4 separate regions of the Homo sapiens genome follow, and regions 1, 3 and 4 are each linked to region 2. The links are contacts of gene promoters, found by promoter capture Hi-C in blood cells and fetal thymus (Javierre and others, 2016). All regions are on one chromosome and are shown on one strand. Each heading gives the region's core, a stretch centred on a gene start or on the middle of the fragment in contact. The rest is flanking DNA. Distances are from core to core; before and after follow the strand shown.

Region 1 (4,635 bases), core at 1,510-4,009, 300 kb after region 2:
TTCAGGAGTCCACCAAAGATTCGGACCCAATTTATATGCTGAATTTAAGGGTCTCCCTTTGTGGTTCTCTCATTTCTGAAATGTTCCCCCTTCCCAATTGTTGTCATGCTCAGAACTCTATTTCTTGGTTCTTCAAGCCAGTAAGATTGTGGGTTTCTATCTAAGTTGTAGCTGCCACACTGGGCCATAAGGCAAAAATAAATACATAAATACTTAAAAACCTGGAAATTCACCCAGTGTGTTCCTTTTGTCCAAGTAAAAATTCTTCTCAGCTTCTGACAGCTTTTGGTTACTCTCCAGTGCTGTATGTGTAGTTGGGGGTCTGCGTCTCATACTTATGTGTTGAGGGTGGTCTAGTAAGAGTAGCCCTTTATTACTGGAAGCTCTAAGTCTATAATTTTTTTAAAAATTTCACTTGTATGTATTTATATTTTAAAATCATTTTGTCGTGAAATGATTCTCTGTACTGTGAGGTAGTACACAGAGGAATCTCACCCCATGCTCCACTACTTAGAATTAAATACATATTCCGCTGTAAGAAAGTAATCTAATTACGTAATAATTCCTATCCCCTTTTCTTCCCCGAGTAGTGATAGCCTGTAATTTGCGTACTTCCTTTCTGTCCCCTTCTAAAGCTTTTATTACATCATACATGTATCCATAAACTAAGTATAGAATTGTTTGGGGTGTGTTGCAAATACACATAAATCGTATCATATTAAATGTCAGTCTGCACTTTCTCCCACTCAGCATGGTTTTCCTGGTCTGGTCACGTTGATACATTTAGGTTTACTTCATTTTCACAGCTTATGTATTAGTCTAAAGTAAGCATAACTACCATGACTATTTATTTGTTCATTTTCCTCTGATGGATATTTAGTTGTTTCCAGTGTTGCGTATCACACCTATAATCAAGATGAAAGCAGCAGAAAATGCTAAGATGTTTTTTCTCCATGTAGGTAAGCAAACTATGGGCTTTCCACTTCTCACTTATCAAGACCGATCGGATAACAAACTGTATCGTCTTCAGACTCCTCAGAGTCCCTTGGTGAGACCCTCCATGTATGATTATTATGACATGGATAACTATCCAATTGGGACCAATGCCATCGTTGCTGTGATTTCTTACACTGGCTATGATATGGAAGATGCCATGGTAAGTTTTACCAGGAAATGTTGTTCCAATCTTTTTATTTTTTAACTTGTTTGTTTACTGTGAAATCACTGAAGGAATATTTTTGTGTACCCAAGTACCTAGTATTTGGCACGTGATGTTCTATTAAATGATTAGTTCTTAGTCTAAGTTGAAAGTGGGCAAGCCTTGAGGAATATCCACTAAATATTCAGATACACGTATGTCTTGCATATTTGAGTGCATATTATGAGTAAATTTTGAAGTTTGGTTTTGGATCTATCTACCTTTTATATTTAAGTATGATTAGATTTTAAGCTATTTCTGTGTGCCTGGGTTTTTGTTTTTCTTGTTTTTTGTTTGTTTGTTTTTTGTTTTTTATTTTTGAGACGGAGTCTCGCTCTGTTGCCCAGGCTGGAGTGCAGTGGCACGATCTTGGCTCACTGCAACCTCCACCTTCTGGGTTCAAGCAGTTCTCCTGCCTCAGCCTCTCGAATAGCTGGGACTACAGGCACCCATCACCATGCCTGGCTAATTTTCGTGTTTTTAGTAGAGATGGGGTTTCACCATGTTGGCCAGGCTGGTCTCGAACTCCTGACCTCAAGTGATCCACCTGCCTTGGCCTCCCAAAGTGCTGGAATTACAGGCGTGAGCCACCGTGCCCAGCCATGTCTGGGTTTTTGTAGTTAGTATCAGTGATTTGGAAAATGTGAGGAAAGTTAAAATGTGATGCCAGTTATCCTAAACCAAGTATGATAGTCCCACCTAGTTTTATTTTGAAAATCCTCAATTGGCCTCAGTCTTTTAACGATTCTTTTACTTCACAGATTGTGAATAAGGCCTCTTGGGAACGAGGCTTTGCCCATGGAAGTGTCTACAAGTCTGAGTTCATAGACCTCTCTGAAAAAATTAAACAAGGAGATAGTAGCCTGGTGTTTGGCATCAAACCTGGTGACCCACGCGTTCTGCAGAAGTTAGATGACGATGGATTGCCGTTTATAGGAGCAAAACTGCAGTACGGAGATCCGTATTACAGCTACCTCAACCTCAACACCGGGGAAAGTTTTGTGATGTACTATAAGTAAGTTTGGGTATCCAAGCTGTTTTGTTTTTGTTTTTGTTTTTGTTTTGAGACAGGGTCTCAGTGTGTCAGCCGGGCTGGAGTGCAGTGGAGTGATCTCAGCTCACTACAACCACCACCTCCCGGGCTCAAGCAATCCTCTCGCCTCAGCCTTTGAGTAGCTGGGACTCCAGGCATGGACCACCATGCCCAGCTAATTTTTTGTATTTTTAGTATAGACGGTTTCACCATGTTGCCCAGGTAGGTCTCGAACTCCTGGGCTCAAGTGATCCACCTGCTTCAGCCTCCCAAAGTGCTAGGATTACAGGCCTGAGCCACCATCCCTGGCCTATTTGTGCTTTTTTTAAAAACTGTATTATCCAAACTTTGTCATCTTTCTCACATACAATGTTAGCAATGTTTCCTAGCCAAAATGTTGAGCTCATACCTCTTATTAGAAATGTCTTATTTTAGCTTATTTTACAATATAATTTATTTCAATAGGCTTTCATAATAATTTTTCAGTTGCTTTTGTTGCTAGTTTTCTTTCAGATGAACATAATTCTGTAGTGAATATCACCAATAGCTCTATTCATACCATCTCTGTTTGTATTGGAGAATAAAGGTAAGAATGAGTTTTGCAGGCCAGGCACAGTAGTTCACACCTGCAATCCCAACACTTTGGGAGACCAAAACAGGAGGATTCCTTAAGCACAGGAGTTCATGATCAGTCTGGGCAATGTAGTGGGGCCCTATCTCTACAAAAAAAATTTAAAGACTAGCCAGGCCTAGTGGCATATACCTGTAGTCCCAGCTACTCAGGAGGCTGAGGTGGGAGGATTGCTTGAACCCGGAAAGTCAAGGCTGCAGTGAGCTGTAATTGCACCACCGCACTCCAGCCTGGGCAACAGAGTGAGACCCTGTATCATAAAAAAAAAAAAAAAAAAAAAAGTTTTACAAATATCCTTTATGAAGCACTAATTATATCAATGAAACTTATCTCCATAAGTTAAAACAAATAGGTTGACCTTATATGGTTTACTTTTTCCTAGGAGTAAAGAAAATTGTGTTGTGGATAACATCAAAGTGTGCAGTAATGACACTGGGAGTGGAAAATTCAAGTGTGTTTGCATCACTATGAGAGTGCCTCGGAACCCAACTATCGGAGATAAATTTGCCAGTCGCCATGGGCAGAAGGGCATTTTAAGCAGATTGTGGCCGGCTGAGGACATGCCTTTTACTGAGAGTGGGATGGTCCCAGACATTCTGTTCAATCCCCATGGTTTTCCATCCCGCATGACCATTGGGATGTTAATTGAGAGTATGGCCGGGAAGTCTGCAGCTTTGCATGGTCTCTGCCATGATGCTACACCCTTCATCTTCTCAGAGGAGAACTCGGCCTTAGAATACTTTGGTGAGATGTTAAAGGCTGCTGGCTACAATTTCTATGGCACCGAGAGGTTATATAGTGGCATCAGTGGGCTAGAACTGGAAGCAGACATCTTCATAGGAGTGGTTTATTATCAGCGCTTACGCCATATGGTCTCAGACAAATTTCAAGTAAGGACAACTGGAGCCCGAGACAGAGTCACCAACCAGCCTATTGGGGGAAGAAATGTCCAGGGTGGAATCCGTTTTGGGGAGATGGAACGGGATGCGCTTTTAGCTCATGGTACATCTTTTCTCCTTCATGACCGCCTCTTCAACTGCTCAGATCGGTCGGTAGCCCATGTGTGTGTGAAGTGTGGCAGTTTACTCTCTCCACTGTTGGAGAAGCCACCCCCTTCTTGGTCTGCCATGCGCAACAGAAAATACAACTGTACTCTGTGTAGTCGCAGTGACACTATCGATACTGTTTCTGTGCCTTATGTTTTTCGGTATTTTGTAGCTGAACTGGCAGCTATGAACATCAAAGTGAAACTGGATGTTGTTTAACTTGATGTTGACCTTTTGGATTAAGAGGACTATCAGATTAAAGCAAAATGTAATTTTAATTCAATGAAGATATCATTACCAGGTTACTCTTGAGATTTTTCAACGGTGTTAGAACTCTCAACCAAGACCTGAAAACCAAGTATGCAAGGTTTCTGAATCTCTCTGGTAGATTAACTATTGACAATGATTTTCTGTTATCTTTGTTCAAAAAGTTCATGTCTTCTCAAAATATGAAATATTGATAAATGGAAGAGCATACGGTGACAAGTCTCCTTTCCAACCCCAGGTTCCCTACACCCTGCTCTCAGCAGGCAGTGAGTGTCACACACCTGTTAATCCATCTTGAGCAGGACAGTACTATACAAATAGAATGCAAGCTGTAATGTAATTTTATATTTTCTTATAGCCACGTTGAAGTAAAAACAAACAGGTACAGTGTTTTTTACCAGCTTTATAGAAGTACAGTTGTTACATATTTAATGAATACAATTTGATGGGTCTGACTATA
Region 2 (5,144 bases), core at 1-2,500:
TCATTGCAATTGTTTTTGAATGCATTCCATTTATGTATTAGTAAAATGTATTATTAAGGAAAGACAAATTAAGTCAGATATTTGGATTAATCATTGAGTCTATCATTTTAGTAAAAAGCAAGGAACTTTCCTTCAGGACTAATATATTAAATAGGCCAAAACACTGACTTGTCATTTAAAAATTTTTTAAGGTCACTTCATAAGTATAAAAAACTCATGCATGGTCGGGCGCGGTGGCTCACGGCTGTAACCCCAGCACTTTGGGAGACCCAGGAGGGCGGATCACCTGAAGTCAGGAGTTCGAGACCAGCCTGGCCAAAATGGGGAAACCCCATCTCTACTAAAAATACAAAAATTAGCCAGGCGTGGTGGCGCGTGCCTGCAGTCCCAGCTACTCGGGAGGCTGAGGCAGGAAAATTGCTTGAACCCAGGAGGCAGAGGTTGCAGTGAGCCGAGAGCGCGACACTGCACTCCAGCCTGGGCGACAGAGGAGACTCCATCTCAGAAAAAAAAAAAAAAAAAAAAAAAAAAAAAAAAAAAAAAGGCATGCCTAATAGTATTTATAAAATACTCGCATACATTTTACATGTTAATATTATTACGAAATAAAGTAACGTTTATATAATTATTTCAATAGCTATTCCTATTTAAGTAATAATTGGGTAAATTTAACAGCAAATACAAGAAAAAACTGCATGGCAAGCTATTTTCCTTAAAACATGATTCTGAACACTAAACGTTACAAAAACAGATACTTGCTACAACTGTGAAGGAGAAACTGCATTTCCCTATTATTACAAGAACAAAGGTTTTCACAAAAAAATTTAAGGACTCTACAGCCGCCTTGTTCTTTGTTATCCCACCCCTGCCCGCCTCGGCTAACGGTTTTGGGGCCCGTTTGCTTGGTGCGTCTGGAACTCCTCGGGCGGCGGGCGTCTCGCAGGAAAAACCGCGGCCCGTACTGCGCCGGGAGCAGAAGCGCTGGTGGCCCTCGTAGGTCCCGTGGGCTGCCTCCCCCTCCTGCAGACACTCGAGGAGCCATCCGGCCGCGTCTCTCGCCGCCCGGCCCCGCCACTAGGCTGCCGCCTCCGCCGCTGCACAGAGAAGGGCGAAGACCCGCCCCTGCAGGTGATTGACGGGCACTCTCCTCCAATGGTCAACGCGCTCGGCCCCGGCGGGCTGGGCAAGGGCCGCGGCTCGCGGAGGAATCTCTCTTGCCCTTTAGTCCCGGGCAAGGTGTTGCGGCCGGCGCCATTTTCTCGAGCCGCCTGTTTCGGGTGCCGCCATGTTGGTGAGGAGAAATCACCGTTACGGCCACTGTCCAAATCCCCGCGTCGCTGCACGCCGCCCGCCCGCTCCCACGCCACAGCCACCGGCGGCGAATAGAGACTAGAGCGGCAGCGCCGGCAGCGCGGGGCCGTTGCCCAGTGTTTGCAGTTAGAGCCCCATCTCTCTGGCGTGGTTGTTAATAGACTGGAAAGTCTGTGTCTGTGTCGCTCACTAGTAACCGTGAGTTTTTACCACTTCGTCACCTGTCGGCGGCGGCCGGGAGCAGGTTCCCGCAGGCGGCGCGGGGGGTCTTCCCCGCGCCCCGCCGCCGCCGGCCTCGCAGACCTGCCCTCCAGCCCCGCCCCGTTCTTGACCAAACATGACAGACTCTGAACATGCAGGGCACGACAGGTCGGGAACCCTTCTTGTCTGTCTTTCTGTCGGATGAGAGGAGGGGTCTGGGGCGGCGGGAGCGGGCCGGGGCCGGGCGCCTCCTGCATGACCTAGACGTCTCTGTGTGGCTCCGTCAGTTCCATGACGCGCACTCTTATGTAAACTGCTGGATCGCGGCCGCGGGGGAGGTCGGCCCGGCCGCGCCCGCCTCCCCGAGCCGGGGTCGCTGCTCGCCAGCGCCGGCCCCGCCCCCGGCCGGGCACGTGCGAGCCCCCCGCCCCCCGGGCGGGCTCCGTGTGCGCCGGGCGGCTCTCAGCGTCCCGGCTCGGTGCTGAGGTCCTGCTTCTGCCCGTCCAGGTGTCGGTGCTCCCGGCCAGATAGGACCAGCCAGGAATTTTCAGGAATGGGTGTTTTGATATTTGACTGCTTCCCGAGAACCGAGAACACCTCTAAAAAAATAAACATTTGGTTTTCAGGGAAGTTTTAAGCAGCACCAAAAGGCCATCTGTTGTATACAGTCTTATCCCTTGGAATTTGAGATGGCAAGTTTCAAGTTTAATATGTTAACACAAAATACTTAGGCTTTGCAGAAACTTAGTTTAGCACAGTTTTACCCTAACGTAAAAACTCCATGGATTATTCCGGCTAGCCCAATTTTCTAGATGGTGTGTATCACTTGAATATTGAGATTCTGATTTTTTATTTTTTGCTCTGTGCCTTAAGAGGCACATTCTTGTTTCCATTCGAGTTTGGGGACATTTACAAAGTATACTGTAGCATACTTAAATTTTGGTTATAATTCAAATTTTCATTCGTATATATCTTTAATAATGCGAAAGGGGGGCTTTCATTCATTAAACTTACTGAAACAAAATCCATTGCATCTGATTCTTACTTAGAATATTAATTTGAAAATCTAGAACCTCACAATTACTCCTTTGTGAATAGAAGTAAGAAAAAATATACGTTTTACTATAGACTATATACATTGCTGAAGTTTTATCTGTAGTAATGTGATCGGCTTGGTAAAGCATCCTAAACACGTTTTTTAAAACCCAGAAGCAAAAATCACAAACACTGCTGAAATTTGAAATATCTAAATACCTAGCAATCTTGAGAGGGATAAAAATGGTATTTCAACAACTTCAGTATTGTAATAATAAAAGTAGATTCCCAGAGGGCACGTCAATCAAAGTGTAAAAATTTTTGGAAAGTAAAATGCACTTTTAAAAATGATAAGCTTGCACTTGGCACATTTTTAATGATTTTTTTAACGTTATCTTTTGTATTAAAAAGGAAATTCTTAGAATGGGTTGACTAATACCTTGCTCTTGAGGTATGGACAAACCAATGATGGGGTTTTGCTAATGGAGCCTAAAATCCTTTTTTTTTTTAATATGGAAGAATATCTGTTCCCCTCTCTTAGTGCACAAAGTAACTTCTATATATGGAGTTATGTATTGTACATCATGAAAAAACAATGCCATCAAATTCAAGTATCAAAATAATTTTGCTGGTAAGGAACTGTGATGACAGACCTTTTAAAGAATTTGAAATTTTAAAATACTGGTTTAGAGGTTAGAAAACTTTAAAGAATTATTTGTAAGATATGTTAATAGGTTGGTAGTAGGAGCTAAAGATTAAGATTAGTCTATTTTATTTAAAATTCGGACTAAAAGTATTTTCTAGTGATTTCTGAAACAAAAAGGTTAGCTCCACTTTAACTTAGCCAATTGTTAAGTGGCATCATTGTGCTGAGATGAAGGAGATGGTTTTTTTTTTTCATGCTTTTTTTGTCAACCCACATGAAAAACAAAACAACTACATCAAAAACAAAGTGAACTAGAAGTCAGGAGAAATTCTACAAGATCAGATCAATGGTTCTAAACCTTCCCTGGGGAACTTTTTTTCTTTAAAGTATTGGCGCTATTTCTGTTGGTCTGGACCTCAGCCTGGGTTTTAAGAGTTCTAAAAGCTCCCCAGGAAATTCTAATATGTGCCAAATTGAGAACCGCTATACTCGATCAGTGTTTCCCAATGATAGTTAATCATCAGAATCACTTTGGGGAATAAATTTTTGTTCTGCCCAGAGCAACTGAATCAGAATCTCTAGGGTATTTTTCATAGGCTCCCTGGGAAATTCTTAAGAAATTTGGGGAAAAAATGGACTAATCTGCGGGCTTCCAAAATACTGTATCTTTCCATATAATAGCTATTTTATGCTGTTATAAAAGTTTCTGTGAATTAAGTGGAGAAAAATATATGAAACTTGGTATATGGAGCTAGGCTTTGTCTCAAGGATTTTATTTTATTTATTTTATTTTTTTGAGACGGAGTCTCGCTCTGTCGCCCAGGCTGGAGTGCAGTGGCACTGTCTCAGCTCACTGCAAGCTCCACTTCCCGCCTTCACACCATTCTCCTGCCTCAGCCTCCTGAGTAGCTGGGATTACAGGCACCCGCCACCACACCTGGCTAATTTTTTGTATTTTTAGTAGAGACCACGTTTCATCATGTTGGACAGGCTGGTCTTGAACTCCTGACCTCAAGTGATCCACCAGCCTTGGCCTCCCAAAGTTTTGGGATTACAGGGGTGAGCCACTGTGCCCAGCCAAGGATATTCTTTTTATAACATTTTCAAAAATTAAGGCATATTGTGTATGCAGGAAAAAAAATGAAGCCTATGATTTATATTTACAATTGCTTTGATTTTATACAAATTAAAATATTACTGTTTATGAGAATGAGATTCTAAATGTAAATGGAATTCACAGAATGCATAATTTTTTTCTCGTTTAAAGAAATAGAGTCTCGCTATATGCCTAGGCTGGTCTTGAACTCCTGGGCTCCAGCCATCCTCCCATTTCAGCCTCCCAGAGTGTTGGGATTACAGGCGTGAGCCACCACGCCTGGCCTTGTACATGTTATATAGTGAACATTTTGCACAAGATTGTTTGCCAAATGAATAATTTAAAAAAAATCCATTTAGTGTACTTTCCTTTAAATATTTTCACACCTGGAGTTAAAACATTGTATTTTATAAGATGTTATTAATATAAAAATACTTCTAATTCTACTTGTGGCTATGTAGAATGTAGTAGAGGACTTTTGCATAAGCCCAGAGCCTAGTTTCTAAAGGTCTTTAGGGATTTAGGGAAATCAGAGGGAGGTATAATTCTGGTCTCTCGTCGTTCAGTTCTTTTTCATTCAGTTCTCTCAGGCACGACTCCAGCCGCTCAGTTTTATATTTCAACTGGATGTTGACCCAATTAAAACAATTCACAACTCCTGAAGACGAAATACTATGAGTCCCTGCTTTGGACACATCTGTAGTAGAGTAGGAAAAGATAAATATAACCCAAGTAATTGTTACAGAATTTTCTGAAATATACTAATGGTAAAAGGTTTTGTAGGGCTTGTACTGGGGAAAAAGATAATTTTTTAGCATGAACCTTTTAAGAGCTTGTGAGTCTCAAAGAGTCTTT
Region 3 (4,793 bases), core at 1,744-4,243, 370 kb after region 2:
CCGGTGCCGCCGACCCGGGCCGTGTGCCCGTGGCTCCAGCCGCTGTCGCCTCGATCTCCTCGTCTCCCGCTCCGCCCTCCCTTTTCCCTGGTGAGTAGTGGCGCCGCCTCGTAAAGGCTCTTTCTTCTCCCCGGGGCCGGGCGCGGACGCCGTGGCGCTGGAGGCGGACGCCGTGGGCGGCGCGGCTGGCTTCTCTCTTCGCCGCTGGCCGCCTCCACTCCGCCCGTCTGCCCGCCCGCGGGCCTTTTTGGCGGTCCCCGGGCGGCGCGCGCGGGAACGGCCCTTTTCCGATTTTCGCGCGGAGGGCGCGCGCGGGCTGGCAGCGCAGGGGCTGGGCTGGGCGCGCGCGGGCCGCGGAGGACCCGGAGCCACGTGCCTCTCCTTCTCGCGCGTCCTACTGGGGATGGGGGTCTGGAGTAGCCGGCAGAGGCTATTGCGGGACCCCGGGCGCGTGGGTAGAGCGGGGTGCCCCACTGGCCCCCCAGGGGCACGCAGCTATTGTTATTTCCCCCCTCCCCCGCAGGATGAACTTGCGTCCTTTCTCTTCTCCGCCATGGAATTCTGCTCCGTGCTTTTAGCCCTCCTGAGCCAAAGAAACCCCAGACAACAGATGCCCATACGCAGCGTATAGCAGTAACTCCCCAGCTCGGTTTCTGTGCCGTAGTTTACAGTATTTAATTTTATATAATATATATTATTTATTATAGCATTTTTGATACCTCATATTCTGTTTACACATCTTGAAAGGCGCTCAGTAGTTCTCTTACTAAACAACCACTACTCCAGAGAATGGCAACGCTGATTACCAGTACTACAGCTGCTACCGCCGCTTCTGGTCCTTTGGTGGACTACCTATGGATGCTCATCCTGGGCTTCATTATTGCATTTGTCTTGGCATTCTCCGTGGGAGCCAATGATGTAGCAAATTCTTTTGGTACAGCTGTGGGCTCAGGTGTAGTGACCCTGAAGCAAGCCTGCATCCTAGCTAGCATCTTTGAAACAGTGGGCTCTGTCTTACTGGGGGCCAAAGTGAGCGAAACCATCCGGAAGGGCTTGATTGACGTGGAGATGTACAACTCGACTCAAGGGCTGCTGATGGCCGGCTCAGTCAGTGCTATGTTTGGTAAGTTCTTTTTATGTTTTGTCCTCTTCGTGGTGGGTGAGCAAATTTGTATCATGGGTGGTTCCATTTTTGTGCATAACCTTTCCGATTAACCTTTCTGAATGTGCCACTTACATAATGGAATTTTGATATTTACTTAATAAAACTTTACTATGTTTCAGGTTCTGCTGTGTGGCAACTCGTGGCTTCGTTTTTGAAGCTCCCTATTTCTGGAACCCATTGTATTGTTGGTGCAACTATTGGTTTCTCCCTCGTGGCAAAGGGGCAGGAGGGTGTCAAGTGGTCTGAACTGATAAAAATTGGTATGTTTAATTCCAAACGGCTTCTTAATTTTCGTTTTCGTCATATGTTACCATGGCATTAGGTATGGGAGGATGTGTTCTAACGTCGAGGGACAGACCCAAGAATTTTGAACTCTTAAACATTTAAAGTGGTTTTTGGTTTCTGATTTTCATTATTTGATATTTTTTCTTAATGTGTTCTATTCCAGTGATGTCTTGGTTCGTGTCCCCACTGCTTTCTGGAATTATGTCTGGAATTTTATTCTTCCTGGTTCGTGCATTCATCCTCCATAAGGTAACCTTTCTCCCCCGTATGAAGACCTTTCATGGAGCACACCCAATCGATTTCAAACCCAGTGGTACTTTTGCAGATGTGATTGGTGTATAGGTATGCGGCCTTGGAAAATTTTAAAAAGCTCTTTGTTCTGTGCATTTCTTGTATGTTGTGGAGTTCTCTGAAAGCGAGTTTTTAATACTCAAGAGGGCAGTCAGGAAGGAAAAATTGAATACTATGATGTGCCAAGAAGTAGGAGAAACTGGGAGCAAAAAAATAAGGAAATTTATTTTGCGTGGTTTTGTGTAGCTGTATACACATTATTTGTTTAAACCACTGTTATATTCAGGCTAATATAATACGTAAACTTGGAGTTCAAGACAGTGTCCCCTGTGGCTTTTTTAACTAAGCTGCCAGTTAAATGGGTCTCTGCCGTGCTGATTATCATAACCAGTTTATAAGCTTCTAGATGAGGACTCTGCCTCCCATAGTGACTTGACTCCAATTTCTCAGAATAGTTGAAAAGAACCAGTTAAAGGTAGTTTTTGGCCCGCCCCCCAAAAAAACTTCAGGCAGCCATTTAATTTCCTGTCCATTTGAAAATCCCTTTTAAGTGACCCAGTTTGCATTTCTTTTATCAAGAAGTCTTGCTGGCTGCAAAATAAATGTTGACAAGGGATTATGTTGGCATAGGACTGAGTTACAGTGAGGATAAATGCATTTTTCTCAGGAAACAAAGTTGTCCTTTTTCTAAGGTGAATGGCTCTTAACAATCCATTGTAAGTTCTTAAAAGTGTTCCTAAACTGTAGAAATCTGAGGGAGATAGCATAAATCCCAGCAGGTAAGAATGTATTCAGACCCACTTGTCTGGTCTAGTTGTAAGCTTCTCTAGGGAAAGATTTGTCTCTTCTCTGTAGAAATTCTATGACTAGTAAAGTGATTCACTAATCACTGTTTTCCATAGCCAGAATCTGGCAGAATATAGCAGTTTAACACTTTGAAAACTTGAAATATCTTTAGCCTGGTATAATATGAGAGTAAACAGTTCATTGATATTTATGGACTCCTAAGTTTGGTACTGTTTTATTCAGCAGACAGGTACGATAAGCATCTACCTTCCCACTCCCTACAACTGTAGTGTATGATACTGGGATGCTTAAATTAGAGGCTCACCAGTAGTCATGGACCAGATTTTTTTGTTTTTTTTAGAGTTTTCATTAGAACTGTATATCTTGCTACTTAGCAGAGAGTCAGAAGCATTAGTAGGATCTCCTGTTGTGAATTCCTGCTTGGTAAAGGTTTATGCTGGCCCTGTGTTGATTATTGAGTAGCAGATCATTTTGTTTTTGGAGAGGGTTTGTGTGTTTCACCTCCACAAAACACTTATTCCCCGGAAGGGGAATGGTGGTGCTCTGAGGTGCAAAGAGGGATTCTCAGGTGCCCAGAACCTCTCATTTGAGGAATGCATACCCCCACGGTGTTATTGAGGGCTGAAGTTAGATACGGTAACTGATTTCTTAATTGTATATTTCCTATATGGGTATGGGAATGGGCATGATCAAATGATGAAGAATGATTGGCATAGTGTTTAAAACAATATTGACTTTGAGGATCTTCCCCCACTCTGTGCACGTGCACACACACACTCTTGCAGGCCAATCCCTCAGTAACAGGAGTTTTCAGTTGAGTATGAATATTTCTGCTTCCTTTTAGGAGTTAAATTTCAAGAAAATATCCTTAGACTGGTAAGCTTTTGGTATCTTAACTGCTAAAATCTGAATATTTGACCATTAAGATATATTCCAACTCTTAAATGTCTATCTTGAAAATTAAGATTAACATGACCTTTTTTTTTAATTTCAAAAAATTGCTTTTAAACATTTTCTATTCTCTGAATGTTTGTTCCAAGCATGTTGGGGATAGGTGGGAACAGACAGAATGGAGGTGAGGTACTTCTATTTAGGACTGGCATCGCACAGAAGGAATATGCTTCAGTGCTCCTGTTGAGTATTTTTAAATTCTAGTCAAAGAAAATAGGGCTTTTGGCATTCTCATTAGTTAGAAATATATTTAGGATGTCTTCCCTTTTCTTTAGACAAAACCAGAATATCCAATATGTAAAAGTGAACTATTCTGGTGAAGATGGGGGGTTTTGTGAAGACCTTTCCTGTCCCACATGACTAGACGATGAGGCATTCACATTATTTCCAGGTGAAGTTTTACTTGTGTGTTAGGTGGATCTCTACAATGATGAGACCTTTCTTGTTTTACCTTCTTCCTAGACTCTCTGGAACTTTTGATTTTTTTTTAACCATGAACCTGTATTTCACAATAAACTATTGGTATAGTAGTGTCATTCATACCCTACCCCATCCCCAACAACTTTGCGTAGAGAATACCTCAGATTTGTTTACCTCAGGGAATACTTAATTGGGCTATGCTATACAGGATAATAAATACACAGGCTGCTACTTCAGACTAGTCAATTACAATTTGATTTATGGATAATCATATTACGAAATATCTTTGAAAATCTATTGAGAAGTCCCCACATAATGTCTTTAAAACCCAGGAAATTTTTGGGGGTGGGAGTCTTGGGTTGGGTTTTTTGGAGCCTTTTTTTTTTTTTTTTGAGACGGAGTCTCACTCTGTTGCCCAGGCTGGAATGCAGTGGCACGATCTGGGCTTACTGCAACCTCCGCCTCTCGGGCTCAAGCAATTCTCCTGCCTCAGCCTCCTGAGTAGCTGGGATTACAGGCGCCACCACACCCGGCTAGTATTTTTGTATTTTTGGTAGAGACGGGGTTTCACCACGTTGGTCAAGCTGGTCTTGAACTCCTGACCTCAGGTGCTCTGTCCGTCTTGGCCTCCCAAAGTGCTGGGATTACAGGCTTGAGCCACTGCACCTGGCTTTTTTTTTTTCTTAAGCGAAGTCTCGCCTGTCACCCAGGCTGGAGTACGGTGACTTAATTGTAGCTCACTGCAGCCTTGACCTCCCAGGCTCAAGTGATCCTCCTGCCTCAGCCTCCAGAGTAGCTGGGACTATGGGTGTGTGCCACCACATCTGGCTAACTTTTTATATTTTATAGAGGTGGAGTCTTGCTCTGTTGCTTA
Region 4 (4,978 bases), core at 1,790-4,289, 370 kb before region 2:
CTTTACCTATGAGATGTGTGACAGTTTTACATCTCACCTTGTGAAAAGCTTAAAGAATGGGATTCTCACTGGCAGAATTACAGCACAAAGGAGTGCTGTATGAAGAAATTAAACATGGAAATTAGACTCTTCATCTAATTTTAAGATTTTCCTATTACACATTGTGGGTCTGAGTGCTTTGCTGACCACACAGGGGAGACAGAGAGAGAGACAATGAGAATATGTGTGTAGATTCTACACTGTTAGCAGTATAGAAGAATGGGTAAATAAAATTTAAGCATCACTTTAACCCAGGAAATCCCCTCTGCCCCCCAACACACATACACACTACACGTCTCACAAAGACATGCACACACAGAACTGGAACTGCCAAACCAGGAGCATTTCGAGGCTTTCCAGTCTTTCCTTTCTGCTCAGTCTCTGATGGGGGTGCCATTGAGCAGCAAAATGAGGCAAGCGGTGGCTCTCTGAAGGGCCAGGGAGAGGATGGAGCAAGATAAATATAAATGTGGATAAAAATGAATGCATTATGAGGACTTAGCTCATGACGAGGCTGTGTGTGCAGCTAAACTCAACCCTTAGAGTAAATTAGGCTTTTAAGATTCTTTAATGTTAATATTTCTTTTCCAAACTGATATTGTAACATGTATTCCAGTATATTGTAAACATCTTCCCAGAGGGAACTTTTAAGTTGTTCTGTTGCTTGTGGGCTTTATTCCAAAGGCTTCAAATGCTTTTTGAAAGTACATCGTGCATATTTTAAAAATGAATACTTTTAGAAAATTATTCTGACCCATTAAAGTGCTGAGTGGAATTCTTTTCTTTTCTTTCTTTCTTTTTTTTTTTTTTTTGGCAGGTTCTCATTCTGCCACCCAGGCTAGAGTGCAGTGGCACCATCACGGCTCACTGCAACCTCAACCTTCCGGGCTCAAGTGATCCTCCCACCTCAGCCTCCCAAGTAGCTATGACCACAGGCACATACCACCATGCCTGGCTAATTTTTTATTTTTTGTAGAGACAGGATCTCACTATGTTGCCCAGGCTGGTCTTGAACTCCTGGGCTCAAGCGATCTTCCCACCTTAGCCTCTCAGAGTGTGGGGATTATAGGCATGAGCCACCATGCACAGCTGAATACAATTTTTAAAAAATTAACAATAATTATGTTTTTTTGTTTTTGAGATAGAGTTTCACTCTTGCTGTCCAGGCTAGAGTGCAATGGCACAATCTCGGCTCACCGCAACTTCCCGCCTCCCGGGTTCAAGCAGTTCTCCTGCCTCAGCCTCCTGAGTAGCTGGGATTACAGGCATGCACCACCACGCCTGGCTAATTTTGTATTTTTGGTAGAGACAGGGTTTCTCCGTGTTGGTTAGGTTGGTCTCGAACTCCCAACCTCAGGTGATCTGCCTGCCTTGGCCTCCCAAAGTGCTGGGATTACAGGCATGAGCCACCACACCCAGCCAATAATTATATTTTTAAATCTTAATTTTTGAAATAATTTCCAGATAATTGTAGAAGGGCCAGTGAGTTACTAGTCAGCATTGGTCAAGAAGAGGTTCAATCTTTTTATGCCTGTGAATTGGGAACATGCTGCTGGGTAGAAAAACTGAGCTGGGACCTTGAACACACATGTGAAACAGTCGCTTTCCATATAATAGCCAGAATGAGATTTTGGAAACGAATCTGATTGTATTTTCCATTTGAAAATCTTCCAGTGGCTTCCTGTTCCCTACTAGAATTTGCAGAGACTCACAGCGAACCTCTTTGACCCATTTCCATTCACTTCCCTCTTGTTCCTACCACTCCAGCCACCTGTGTCTTCTTTCTAGGGCCTGAGCAGCCTTTGCAGTGACTCTTCCCTCTGGCTGGAACCTTTTTCCCAAGATCTCGGCATGCTGGCTTCTTCTCATCCTTTGGGTTTCAGTTCAGAGGTTCTCCTTGAGAAGCCTTCCCCAATAACCACCCCCTGCCAAAGTATCATATGCATACACCCCACTATCCCTTAAATTTAATTTCCTGATAATGCTTCTCACAACCTGATCAGTTCCTTCCTTCCTTCCTTCCTTCCTCCCTCCCTCCCTCCCTCTATTTCTTTATTGACAGAGTCTTGCAATGGCAAATTCTCTGCTCACTGCAACCTCCGCCTCCCAGGTTCAAGCAATTCTCCTGCCTCAGCCTTCCCAGTAGCTGGGATTACAGGCACCTGCCACCACAGCTGGCTAATTTTTGTATTTTTAGTAGAGACAGGGTTTCACCATGTTGGCCAGGCTGGTCTCGAACTCCTGACCTCAGGTGATCCGCCTACCTCAGCCTCCCAAAGTGCAGAGATTACAGGCGTGAGCTATGGCACCCAGCCTTACCTCTTTGTTTACTCCTTTTCCTCCACTGTCCCCCCACCACAAGGTAAGCTCCTGGTGGCAGGGCTGCTGTCTTTTTCACTGCTAACACAGCATGGAGCTCATACGGGTGCTCAGTGAGTATCAGAGCACAGCATGAAGGAACCAAGCCCCTGCATGTCTTACCAGGTGCTCTTCACCCTTATCTTTTCCTACTGGCTTTTCCAGAAACAGAATTGCTGGAGCTCCCATGCCCTCACATTCGGGGCTTGGTTAATAGAAAACAATCTTTTATTTTGCTGTGATGCCAATGTGATTTCATTGCTGGAGGAGCTAGTCAATTAAAACCAGACAGATTTTTGGGCTGTATTAACCCCAAACATATTTTACATTGTCCTAACTATTCCAACTAGAAAAAAAAATGTCAGAAGGTAATTTTTCATGTTAAACACAGTTCTAACAACTCCTTGCTCAGGGGCAGGTAGCCCTGGGTGCCTTGACTTTGGCCCTTGCCGTTAGTTTAATCTTAACCCAAAGCACATGGCTCTGAATTGGTATGTTTCTCAGCAGGAGATTAATTATTATAAAAACTGAAAGGGGTCTCACACTGTGTGAGGCACACTATGCCTCTGGGGACTGGAATGAAAGTGTTAACCGGGACTGGCTTCTGGGGCTTTGGGGGTGGTGATTAACTTTCAGGACCTCTGTTCCTTTTTGGGTACAGTGGGAGGCTCTTTTCATAGAATTGTTAGGAGGACGTAATGAGCTAATGGCAGGTGATATGTGCTTAAAATATATTTGCCATTATTACCAATGGTTCTCCTCCATTCTTCTGAACTCAAGTATGGGGGAAATGTTTTTCCTAGACAAAAGGTGTTGGGAGGAGGGTTCTTTTCTTATTGAAGTGTATCCTGAATGGTCCACCCTCCATTGTTCAGAATGCTTTGGTGAAGGGGCCCTCCGGTGTCGCCCTAGAGTGCCCAAGTCCTTTGCTGCAGCTCTTTAGGTTTTTGTTTCCTAGTAGTTTGAGCAAAACCCACCCAGGACCAAGCAGTTCTCCAGAGAAGCAGGGCCCGCCCTGACTGCCATTCCCCTCCTACTCCTGCCCCCATACCTTCCCTTATGGAGTTCAAACTTGACATAGTACAGGAATAGCTTCTTGTCATGTGCCTCTCAGGAAGGTATAAAAATGAAGTCCAGTTCCTGTTCAACTTTTCCCACATAACTCTTTTCCAAACTGGGTGTGGTTTAAATTTTTTTATTTTTATTTTTTGTGTTTGTTTTGTTTTAGGGTTTTTGAGTGTGAACATCCAGAAAATTCTTTTTTTTTTTTTTGAGATGGAATCTTGCTCTGTCGCCCAGGCTGGAGTGCATGTGGCGCGATCTCGGCTCACTGCAACCTCCGCCTCCTGGCTTCAAGCAATTCTCTGCCTCAGCCTCCCAAGTAGCTGGGATTACAGGTGCCCTCCACCAGACCTGGCTAATTTTTGTATTTTAAGTAGAGACGGGGTTTCACCGTGTTGGGCAGGCTGGTCTTGAACTCCTGACCTCGCGATCCACCCACCTCGGCCTCTCAAAGTGCTGGGATTACAGGAGTGAACCACCTCACCCAGCTCAGAAAATTCTTTTCCTTTTTACCACATCGAGCTAGGTTTTCCCAATGAGGTCAGTTGGCTGCAACATAGAGAAAATGAGGCTTTGGTTCTTAGAGTAGATTCCGTGTACAGGCGTGAGTATGTGTCCGCAGGTGGTCTTGTAGGAAATGCAAAGGGCGCCAGGTGCACTCCTGGCTTCTGGTACTTCCTGCTTAATGGCATGGGTGAGCCAACCCTCAGGTGCCCGGGAGGGAGCCCTGATTACTCTCCCTCTGGCACTCTGGGCATTGGCTAACCCGTGACCGGAGTTAAACCAGTTCCCTCTCTTTTCATTCTATGTCTCCCACTCCTGCCTCCAGCCGAAGTGCTAAAAATGCAGCCTGGCAGGGGCAGAGAATTCCATTAGGATCAGCAGGCCCCTTTTGGAGAACAAGGATACTAAGAATACCTGCCATCCTGGCACTTCCTCCCTCCTAGGCCTTACTTTTCTCTGTCTGAACCATGGCTGTTGAACTGGGTGATTCTTAGCCACAGGAAGGGAGGGCCTAGATCTTCCCTAGTTTTGTGAGACTCTGCAGCTGGACAGCCATCCCTTCATGGGAGCTGCCACATTTTCACTCTCGGGGCCTCTGACAGGCACTAGGATCTAGGGACATGGCCGGCATGTGAAACCCTGGGCTGCTATGGCCAGGTCACCTCCTCAGGTCCTGGTGTTTCAGAGTGATAAAGAAGAAAGGGTGATTATGTCTCAAACATTTCATTGAGAAACCTACACTGTTCTTTTTTTTTTTTTTTTTTTTTTTGACATGGAGGCTCACTCTGTCACCCAGGCTGGAGTGCAGTGGCGCGATCTCAGCTTACTGCAGCCTCCTGGGTTCAAGCGATTGAACCCAGGGTTCAACCTCCTGGGTTCAAGCGGTTCTCCTGTCTCAGCCTCCCGAGTAGCTGGGATTACAGGCACCCATTACCACACCCAGCTAATTTTTGTATTTTTTAGTAGAGACAACGTTTCACAATGTTGGCCTGGCTGGTCTCGAACTCCTGGCCTC

What was found. The method cuts DNA at HindIII sites, captures the fragments that hold promoters and counts their contacts. A CHiCAGO score of 5 or more calls a contact.
Region 1: a contact is called between a fragment that was not itself captured here and the fragment with the promoter of ZC3H6 in region 2, in 4 of 17 cell types (total B cells, activated CD4 T cells, neutrophils and 1 more). The highest score is 8.4, in total B cells.
Region 3: a fragment that was not itself captured here is called in contact with the fragment with the promoter of ZC3H6 in region 2 in 2 of 17 cell types (fetal thymus and non-activated CD4 T cells); the score reaches 7.4 in fetal thymus.
Region 4: a contact is called between a fragment that was not itself captured here and the fragment with the promoter of ZC3H6 in region 2, in 1 of 17 cell types (fetal thymus). The highest score is 5.8, in fetal thymus.

The regions. Positions count from the first base shown.
Region 1 is chr2:112,571,603-112,576,237 of GRCh38, forward strand. It overlaps POLR1B (RNA polymerase I subunit B), which reads left to right. Exons shown (of 15, transcript NM_019014.6): 13 at 960-1,156; 14 at 1,960-2,213; 15 at 3,245-4,635. The coding sequence ends at 4,127. Among named protein-coding and RNA genes, the nearest start is that of CHCHD5, 11 kb to the right of the region's middle. The HindIII fragment of the contact is 4,253 bases long and covers 634-4,635 here.
Region 2 is chr2:112,274,347-112,279,490 of GRCh38, forward strand. ZC3H6 (zinc finger CCCH-type containing 6) reads left to right here and starts at 1,251. Exons shown (of 12, transcript NM_198581.3): 1 at 1,251-1,680. The coding sequence starts at 1,649. RefSeq lists enhancers at 953-1,525, 1,141-1,350 and a silencer at 1,541-2,020. The HindIII fragment of the contact is 12,828 bases long and covers 1-2,900 here.
Region 3 is chr2:112,646,040-112,650,832 of GRCh38, forward strand. It overlaps SLC20A1 (solute carrier family 20 member 1), which reads left to right. Exons shown (of 11, transcript NM_005415.5): 1 at 1-90; 2 at 524-1,123; 3 at 1,285-1,425; 4 at 1,614-1,699. The coding sequence starts at 790. Among named protein-coding and RNA genes, the nearest start is that of SLC20A1, 2.5 kb to the left of the region's middle. RefSeq lists silencers at 1-391, 853-1,147. The HindIII fragment of the contact is 867 bases long and covers 2,561-3,427 here.
Region 4 is chr2:111,900,725-111,905,702 of GRCh38, forward strand. All of the region lies in intron 1 of MERTK (MER proto-oncogene, tyrosine kinase), which reads left to right. Among named protein-coding and RNA genes, the nearest start is that of MERTK, 4.6 kb to the left of the region's middle. The HindIII fragment of the contact is 5,986 bases long and covers 47-4,978 here.